Linked DNA regions of Homo sapiens: region 1 is linked to region 2. Evidence: promoter capture Hi-C in 16 types of primary human blood cells and fetal thymus (Javierre and others, 2016). All regions are on one chromosome and are shown on one strand. The core of a region is centred on a gene start or on the middle of the fragment in contact, and the rest is flanking DNA. Distances in the headings are between cores, read along the strand shown. Region 1 overlaps DNAI2 (dynein axonemal intermediate chain 2). Region 2 holds the start of RPL38 (ribosomal protein L38).

Region 1 (5,174 bases), core at 2,430-4,929, 91 kb after region 2:
AAAAACTTTAGTATCAAAACCTCGTTTCACACCAAACCTAGGAACTGGACTAGAAATATAATTATCACACACATACGCACACCCCAATCCTGTTCACCAAAAATAAAAACCATCAGCAAAGCCCCTAGGGTCAAGAATGCCAGATTCTGGCCAAGGTGGACCAGGGGGTGCAGGCTGGGGAAAGACTGGAGGGGCTTCCAGGCTTCCCCCTCTGCCACCATGCCCCCGCTACCCACCCGCAGAAGGGGTGAAACTGGTTGATCCTGTCCTTTTCTTTCCGGGCCTGGTGGGGATAATTTTTTTGTGCTTTATAGAAAACCCCAACAAGCCTGAACTTGCTCTGAAGCCATCGTCTCCACTCGTGACGTTGGAGTTCAACCCCAAAGATTCCCACGTACTCCTGGGTGGCTGCTACAATGGACAGATAGGTAAGGAGGGACCTAGGCTTTTTTATTTTTATTTTTATTTTTTTTAGATGGAATTTTGCTCTTGTTTCCCAGGCTGGAGTGTAGTGGTGCAATTTTGGCTCACTGCAACCTCCGCCTCCTGGGTTCAAGTGATTCTCCTGCCTCAGCCTCCCGAGTCGCTGAGATTACAGGCACCCACCACCACACCTGGCTAATTTTTTTGTTATTTTTAGTAGAGACAGGGTTTCACCATGTTGGCCAGGCTGGTCTCGCACTCCTGACCTCAGGTGATTCACCCACCTGGGCCTCCCAAAGTGCTGGGATTACAGGTGTGGGCCACCACACCTGGCCGGGACCCAGATTCATAGTCAGAGCCAATCCTGCTGCTATAGGGCAGAGCCCACATGGCAGCCTGGGCTCGGCCACAGAAGACTAAGTGGGGTGAGGGCCTCCCATAGCTGACCAACTGCAGACACGGGTGAGGCAGGTTTGGCTGACACCTCAGCAGTGTCTCCTGTTACTACTGTAAGTCTAAAATTAGCTCAAAATAAACAGTTTTAAAAAACTATAGTTCAAGTAAAATCAGAGAATATTTGACTAGGGGCCGCCATAAAGGGATGATGAGAGCGTTGGGGAGCCCTATTTTGGGAGAGGTTTCTGGGAAACCTACATGCTAACGGATATGGGTAATACTGGCCTTATAGAATGAGTTGGGAAGTATTCCCTTCTGGAAGTTTGTGAAGAATTGATATTAATTTTTTTTTTTTTTGAGATGGAGTCTCGCTCTGTCGCCCAGGCCGGAGTGCAGTGGTGCAGTCTCAGCTCACTGCAGCCTCCACCTCTCGGATTCAAGTGATTCTCCTGCCTCAGCCTCCTGAGTAGCTGGGACTACAGGCTCATGCCACCACGCCTGGCTAATTTTGTCTTTTTTCAGTAGAGTTAGGGTTTCACTATGTTGGCCAGACTTGTCTCAAATTCCTGACCTCAAGTGATCCTCCCTCCTTGGCCTTCCAAAGTACTGGGATTACTGGCGTGAGCCACCATGCCTGGCCGCTATTAATTCTTGAAATGTTTGGTAGAACTCATCAGTGAAGCCATCTGGTCCCTGGCTTTTCTTTATTGGAAGCTTAAAAGTTACAATTCAGTCTGTTTATTTGTTATAGATCCTCTTCACATTTTCTGTTTCTTCTTTAATTGCTTTTGGTAGTTTCTGTCTTTCTAGGAACTTTTCCATTTCATCAAGTTGTCTAGTTTGTTGACATTTAATTGTTCACAGTATTCCCTTATAATCATTTTCTTTTTCTTTTTTTTTTTTTTTTTTTGAGACAGAGTTTTACTCTGTTGCCCAGGCTGGAGTGCAGTGGTGTAATCACTGCTCATTGCAGCCTCGACCTCCTGGGCCCGAGCAATTCTTCCACCCCAGCCTCCCGAGTAGCTGAGCCTACAGGCATGTGCCACCACACTCGGCTAATTTTTGTAGTTTTTTTAGTCACAAGGTTTCATCATGCTGCCCAGGCTGGTCTTAAACTCCTGGGCTCAAGGGATCCGCCTGCCTTGGCTGGCCTCCCAAAGTGCTGGGATGAACCACCACACCTGGCCTGATTTCAGTCTTTTAAAATTTATTGAGACTTGTTTTATGGCCTAGCATATTGTCTATCCTGGAGAATGTTCCATGAGCACTTGAGAAGACTATATTCTGCTTATTGTCCGGTGTAGTTTTCCTTTTTTTTTTTTTGGGACGGAGTCTTGCTCTTTCGCCCAGGCTGGAGTGCAGTGGCGCGATCTTGGCCCACTGCAAGCTCTGCCTCCTGGGTTCACGCCATTCTCCTGCCTCAGCCTTCCGAGTAGCTGGGACTACAGGTGCCTGCCACCACGCTGGGCTAATTTTTTGTATTTTTTTTTAGTAGAGACGGGGTTTCACCGTGTTAGCCAGGATGGTCTCGATCTCCTGACCTCGTGATCCGCCCGCCTCGGCCTCCCAAAGTGCTGGGATAACAGGCGTGAGCCACCGCACCTGGCCTGTCCAGTGGAGTTTTCTATAGTTGTCTGGGAGGTCTTGTCTATAGTGTTGGTCAAGACTTCTATTTCCTTGTTGATCTTTCACGTAGTAATTATGTCTATTATTGAAAGTAGGATACTGATGTCTGCCATTATTATTGTTGAATTGTCTATTTCTCCTTCAATTTTGTCAGGTTTTGCTTCCTGTATGTTAAGGCTATGTTATTAGGTACATGCACATGCTTATAATTGTTAAGTTTTCCTAGTGAATTAACCCTTTTATCAGTATATGATGTCTTCATTTGTCTCTAGTAGCATTTTTCATCTCAAAGTCTGTCTTTGAGATAAGCACTCCAGCCCTCTTTGGTTACCATTTGCATGGTATATCTTTCCCCATCCTTTTACTTTTAACCTGTTTGCCTCTTTGAATCTAAAGTATGTCTTGTAGCCAGGTGTGGTGACACGCACCTGTAATCCCAGCTACTTGGGAGGCTAAGGCACGAGAATCGCTTGAACCTGGGAAGCTGAGATTGCAGTGAGTCGAGATCATGCCACTGAACTCCAGCCTGGGTGACAGAGCGAGACTCCATCTCAAAAAAATAAAAATAAAATAAAAAAATAAAGTATGTCTCTTGTAGATTACATGTAGCTGGCATACAAGTGAATCATAGTTTTGTTTTGTTTTGTTTTTGAGACAGAGTCTTACTCTGTCACCCAGGCTGGAGTGCAGTGGCGTGATCTCGGCTCACTGCAACCTCCGCCTCCTGGGTTCAAGCGATTCTCCTGCCTCAGCCTCCCGAGTAGCTGGGATTACAGGTGCATGCCACCACGCCCAGCTAATTTTTGTAGTTTTGGAGAGATGAGGTTTTACCATGTTGGCCAGGCTGATCTCGAACTCCTGGCCTCAAGCGATATGCCCACCTCGGCCTCCCAAAGTGCTGGGATTACAGGCATGAGCCACCACGCCCAGCTTGGATCGTGGTTTTTTCCTTTTAATCTATTCTATCTATCTCTGGTTTTAAGTGGAGAGTTTAATCTATTTACATTAATTTAATTACTGATAAAGTTTACATCTGCCATTTTGCTTTTTTTTCCTATATGTCTTACATCTTTTTGTTCTTTCTCCATAACTGCCTTCTTTTGTGCCACGTATTTTCTAGTGTACCATTTTAATTCCCTTATCATTTCTTTTTTTTTTTTCTTTTCTTTTTTTTTTAGAGACAAGGTCTCACTCTGTCACCCAAGCTGGAGCGCAGTGCTGTGATCATAGCTCACTGCAGCCTCAAACTCCTGGGCTCAAGCAATCCTCCCACCTCAGCCTCCTGAGTGGTTGGGACAACAGGTGCACGTCACCACACTCAGCTACTTTTTTATTTTTTAATTTTTGTAGAGATAGGGTCTTGCTATGTTGCCCAGGCTGGTCTTGAACTCCTGGCCTCAGGCAATTCTCCCACCTTGGCCTCCCAAAGTGCTGGGATTTCAGGCGTGAGCCACCACACTCAACTTAAGCTATTGATCTTATTGATGATCCTGTGTATGTGATGAGTCATTTTTCTCTTGCTGCTTTCAAGAGTCTCTGTCTTCAGCTTTGATTATGATGTTTCTAGGTATGGATATCTTTGAGTTTATCCCACTTGGAATTCATTGAGTTTCTTGGATGTGTAGATTATTTTTTTAAAAATCAAATATGGAATATTTACAACCATTATTTATTCAAATATTCTTTCCTACCCTTTCTCTCTCTCCTCTCCTTCTGTGACTTCCATTATGTGTATGTTGGCATGCTTGATGGTGTCCCATAGGTCTTTAGACTCTGTTTTTCTTTGTTCTCTTTTCTTTCTATTCCTCAGACTACATAATCTCAATTGACCCATCTTCACGTTCAGTGATTCTTCTGCCTGCTCAAATATGCCATCCTGTAGCTTCTCTGCTATATTTTTATTTTGGTTAATGACTCCAGAATTTCTATTTTGTTCTTTCTTTTAAAAATAATTTCTGTCTCATTTGGATGTGGTGGCTCGTGCCTGGAAACCTAGCACTTTGGGAGGCTGAGGTGGGTGGATTACCTGAACTCAGGAGTTCAAGACCAGCATGGGCAACATGGTCAAACCCCATCTCTACTTAAAAAAAAAAAAAAAAAAATCAGCCAGGTGAGGTGGAGTGCACCTGCAATCTCAGCTACTTGGGAGGCTGAGGCAAGAGAATTGCTTGAACCCAGGAGGCAGAGGTTGCAGTAAGTTGAGATTGTGCCACTGCACTCCAGGCTGGGCAACAAAGCGAAACTCTGTCTTCAAAAATAATAATGATAATGATTTTTGTCTATTTGTATCTTTTATTTGGTGAGAGATCATCTCATGCTTTTCTTTAGTTCTTTTGATGTGACTTCCTTTAGTTCTTTGAACATGTTTAGCATAGCTGATGTGAGGCCTTTGTCTAGTTAGTCCAATATCTGGGCTTCTTGGGGACAATCTCTATTTATTGCTTTTTTATTCCTGTGTTTGGGCCATACATTTGTATTTCTTGGCATGTCTTATAATTTTTTTTTTATTAAAAACTATACTTTTTGTATGATTTAATGTGGCAACTTTGCAAATCAGATTGACATACCTCCCAGAGTTTGTGTTGTTGCTGTTTGTTGTAGTTGTTCTTTGTTTCATTAATACATTTTCTTAGCTAGTTCTGGAAAGTCTGTATTCCCTGTCACGTGTGACCACTTATAGTCTCTGCTTAGCTTAGTGATTAGTTAATGATTGAACAAAGATTTCCTTA
Region 2 (4,586 bases), core at 1,359-3,858:
AGCATCTGCTCAAGGTCTCAGGCTGTGGCACTCAGGGCCTAGGCTCTGCCCCCCTTGGTCTCTGACAGTCCCCGGCCACTCCAGGACATTTGGGGCTCATCTTCCCATGGAGCAGGGAAGCGTGCCCTCTGGGCACCTTGCCTCACTTTTAGTAGCTGCAGCTTATTTTGCTATTTGTCCCCCTTGGGGAGCTGGAGGTCTTTGGTACTTGAACAAATTTGCCATTGTGTTTTGCTACTACACGTCTATGGTCCCTTAAATTATACAACTCAAGAGGGTGAACATCTGTCTCCCTGGGATCGCTGCCAAAAGGGAGGTGCAGCTCCTCCTTCTATCCCCGTCCTTGTCCTGTCGGGCCGGCAGTGAGGCAAGAAGCACCAGTCATTCATTCAACAAATAGTTTTTGGACCTACTACATGCCAGGCACTGCTTCAGGCACGTCAGTGTCTCCTTCTGGCTCTCCCTGAATTCCTCCCTCCATCCACCACCCCTTTATATGGTGAGTGATCTCAGATGCCGCATCCAGCCGGATCATCCTGCAATGTTAGCATTGAGCACTTACTGTACAGATGGGTACTGCACTTCGAGAGTTATCGACAGAATGCTGAGCCCTGTCCTTGCCTTCAAGGAAAAGTGGTAAGGTGGGGCGTAGTGGCTCACACCTGTTATCCTAGCACTTTGGGGGGCCGAGGCAGGAGGATCCCTTGAGCCCAGGAGTTCGAAACCAGCTTGGGCAACCTAGGGAGACCATGTCTCTAAAAAAGTTTTAAAAAATTAAAAATAAAAAGAGTGGTGCGCATGTATGAAAAGTTAAACACCTCCACGCAGCCTACGGAGAAGTGATTGCAAGGAACCACTGTATGAGCGGCAAGCAACATAAGTCAAGGGTGAAGGGTCCTGCCTGAAAAAGGGGAGGCGGGAGCTGAGCTCGGAAGGACCAGTGGCACTTGGCATCAGAGTGGACAGCAGAGCAAATACCTGGAGGGCAGAAAGTGCCCAAAAGTGCCCCTCGGCTTGGCTGAAAGGGTGGTTGCTTGTGGAGGAGCAGTGGGGTAGAAAAGACCAGAAAGGCATCGCCTGAGATGGGAAGGGCTGGCAAAGCCGGGCTCTGAGGTATGGGAAAATCCTTCTCAGGTCAGAGCTGAAGCACTCGTGCTTCTCAGATCGGATCCGACCTTCAGACATCTAAAATTAGGCTTCTGCCAATTAACTTTTCCCACTGCTAGAACCCCGACACATTTACAGTTGCAGAGACATCGTTCAGCTTCTTTAAAAGACTCTTCAGTGTTATTACAATATTTTTGTGATCTCTCTGCAGCAAGGTCTATTGGTTCCTGTATCTCCAGCACCCCCAGGAAGGTGCTCAGCCTGAGCTTGTTAATGGAAGGGCAGGAGGGAGGAAGAAAGGAAGGTTAAGTTAAATAAGTTCTAAGTAAAGCTCATGGCAAAGTGTTCTTTCCCTTCAGGAGGGCCGCTCTGTAATAATAAGCACGAAGCAATTACATTCTGCCGTGTGGTTATTAAATTTTGGGGAAACAAATATAATAAAATGTAGACATTTGTAGGGAGGTTGGAGATAAAATAAAAATGGAGGATAAAAATAAAATCGATAACCGCAGGTTGCTCAGAGTCTAACCTAAAGGATGTTAGGGGGAGAAAGGAACGCTGCCCTCCCCAGGCTTCCCAAGCCTCCCCAGGAAGTGGCCGGAGCCTGGGCTGGGGAATCTGCCCAGCAGGGGTTCAACTCCTGAGTCCACCTCTCCCCTCTGGGGCCGCGGTGAGACCCCGCAAGAGCAGGAGCACTCCCACTCACCATCAGCCCTAGGGGTGAGACACTTAGCCAGGGGCAGCGCTGCGACAGCTTTTGGAAGTATTATTATTATTATCATTATTGCTAGAGATGGGGGGGGGGAGGTCTTACTAGGTTGCCCAGGCTGCTCTCGAACTCCTGGCCTCAAGCGATCCGCCTGCCTCGGCCTCCCCCAGTGCTGGGGTTATAAGCGTGAGCCACCGCGCCCGGCCTTAACTTGCTTTCATTGTACACCAATTCCTAAGGGAATTGGAAGCAGCAAGCAGGAACGCTCCCTCTTATGGAAAGAAGAGCCCAGGGCCCTGGTCATGACAGGTTCAGGTGCCAAAAAGGAGACGGGAAGAAAACGTGAGGCGCCAGAACAACAGGTTCTACAAGGTGCACACGAGGGTCCCTGCCATTGAATGAAGAATTTTCTGTGTGGATGCCCCTGCGCAGGTCCAATGAAAGCCGTGGAGAATAAGCGTTAGCTCTTCAAACTGAATCTGAGCTAAAACCTAGCAAAGCCAGGCTGGGGTCTGAGGGGTTGCGGGGGAAGACAGGAAGGGGTGGACGGGGAAGAGGCGGGGGTCCTAGGAGGAAGGGATGGGGAGGAGCGAGAGGAGGGAGGCGGAGGGAGGGCGGCAGCCAGGATGGTCCATTCCATTCTTGGAGCTGCACTGTTGACTTCGACCACAAGGGGGCAGGGCTGCTGAAATTGGAAGTGCGAACGCCTACATGAGTCTTGATCCTCGGCAGGCACCGTACCCAGTTTCCTCCGTTGGGAGGGTTTAACTGCCCGGAAACGGAAGTCTCGTTCTTTTTCGTCCTTTTCCCCGGTTGCTGCTTGCTGTGAGTGTCTCTAGGGTGATACGTGGGTGAGAAAGGTAATCTGGGGCAATCCACTGCCAGGTGAAATCTGGGGACCCCAGGTCCGCGTGGAGGGTGTCGGGGAGGAGAAGGGGAGTGCGATGGGGCCGATATTTCGGGGGAGAGCGGGAAAACGGGGTTCGCTGCCAGCCCCCGCGCCGTGTTAACGCCGAGGACTGTTTCCCGCAGGTCCTGGTCCGCGCCAGAGCCCAGCGCGCCTCGTCGCCATGGTGAGTACAGTCCCTGCCTGGCGCCTTCCCGGGGTGGGCTCGTGGGGCCCCGGGGCGAGGGCGAGAGAGCCTCCCAAGGATCTCCTGAGGCCGGGAGAAGCTGGTGGACTGGGCCATCGCCGGGAGACGTGTCTCTTTCCTCTCTGTTCACCCGCTTCCTTTGTGTTGCAGCCTCGGAAAATTGAGGAAATCAAGGACTTCCTGCTCACAGCCCGACGAAAGGATGCCAAATGTAAGTGGTTGCTCCGAAGGTTCAAGAAGAGCGGTGCCTAGCCTGGCACCGCTCCGGGAGCGTCTTCCCCGGAATGTCAGGCAGGAGACGGTTAGGCCGTCTGGGTGTGTGCCTGGCCCTCTGGGAGCAGTGGTTTCATCCTGTTTCCCATGAGAAAGACCTGTGGGGGGCACGTTGAGGCCCTGGAATTTCTAGGACCATCTTTAGCTAATCGCGATCATCTCAGAGGCCGCCCTGAGTTCAGTTTTCTTTCGTATAATATAGTAAATTGTCGGAACGGAATCTCCACTCCGCGAAAGCCTCAAAACACACGTCCCATAAACACTGTTTAGGTTCTCTGCAGTTGTGCAAAATCTTAACACAAAATCCATTTTGTAATAAAGTGCTGGATATTTGCATGTAATGTATCGAGCACGGCACACTGTGTAGTATGGTCGTTTACCTCGTGATCCTGTGGTCGCTGGCCAGTGTCAGAAGGTATCATACCTATCTAATCCAGAAAAATATTTAAAAAAATTTTTTTTTTTCTTTGAGACAGTCTGGCTCTGTCGCCCAGGCTGGATTGCAGTGGTGCGATCTTGGCTCACTGCAATTACCGCCTCCCAGGTTCAAGCGATCCCCCTGCCTCAAAGTAGCTGGGCGCGCCACCATGCCTAGCTGATTTTTGTGTTTTTGGTAGAGACAGAGTTTCACCATGTTGGCCAGGCTGGTCTCGAACTCCTAACCTCAGATGATCCACCTGCCTCCGCCTCCCAGAGTGCTGGGATTACAGGTGTGAGCCACTGTGCCCCGCCAAGATCAAAATTTGAAGCAGGGCTTCTACTGAATGTATATCGCATTACCACCATTGTAAAGTCACAGAGTTTAAGTTGGACTGTCATAGGTCTGTTTCCCAGCTTGTACATACAGGGGAAAGAAGGTGATTAATGAAAAACCTTAAACAGCAGGTTTTCGATGGATAGGTGCCAATCTCTGCTGCCCACTTACTTAAATTTTTACACCAAGTGTGAGAGGTAGTTGTGTTACTCCTTTGTGATACTTGAAGGAGATTGGGGGGGCTTGTGTTTGATACAAGCTAGGTCTTGAGTTATGTTGTTACTTTAACCCAGTCATCTTTTTTCAGCTGACTGAGAATCAGGTCACATGTGGAAGTGAGGTTGCATGGGACAGGCCTGTTAAGGTGGGCTAAGACACCAGCCGTCTCTAATGCTCTGCCAGCCGTGGTGCCAGACGGTGGTTGGTGTACAGGGAGAGTCTTTCAATGAGTTGGGGGTAGGCAGAGATGGGGGTCATATTTGTGTCCCCATTACCCAAAACAGGCTGTCACCTTTGAGGTAGTGACCACCTGTGGGGACAAATAGCATCTGGTGGGAATGATGACTGTTGGCTAGTGTTTTGTGTAAAGAGATGAGGTTATCAGGTCAGTTTTATTTCAGACCATATGGGGTCACTGCCTAGTTTGAAG

Evidence for each region. The method cuts DNA at HindIII sites, captures the fragments that hold promoters and counts their contacts. A CHiCAGO score of 5 or more calls a contact.
Region 1: a contact is called between a fragment that was not itself captured here and the fragment with the promoter of RPL38 in region 2, in 2 of 17 cell types (erythroblasts and megakaryocytes). The highest score is 6.7, in erythroblasts.

The regions. Positions count from the first base shown.
Region 1 is chr17:74,290,706-74,295,879 of GRCh38, forward strand. It overlaps DNAI2 (dynein axonemal intermediate chain 2), which reads left to right. Exons shown (of 14, transcript NM_023036.6): 6 at 315-428. Among named protein-coding and RNA genes, the nearest start is that of DNAI2, 19 kb to the left of the region's middle. The HindIII fragment of the contact is 4,296 bases long and covers 1,532-5,174 here.
Region 2 is chr17:74,201,070-74,205,655 of GRCh38, forward strand. It overlaps RPL38 (ribosomal protein L38), which reads left to right and starts at 2,609. Exons shown (of 5, transcript NM_000999.4): 1 at 2,609-2,676; 2 at 2,849-2,889; 3 at 3,061-3,121. The coding sequence starts at 2,887. RefSeq lists enhancers at 1,845-2,348, 3,357-3,861, 3,862-4,365. The HindIII fragment of the contact is 15,941 bases long and covers 1-4,586 here.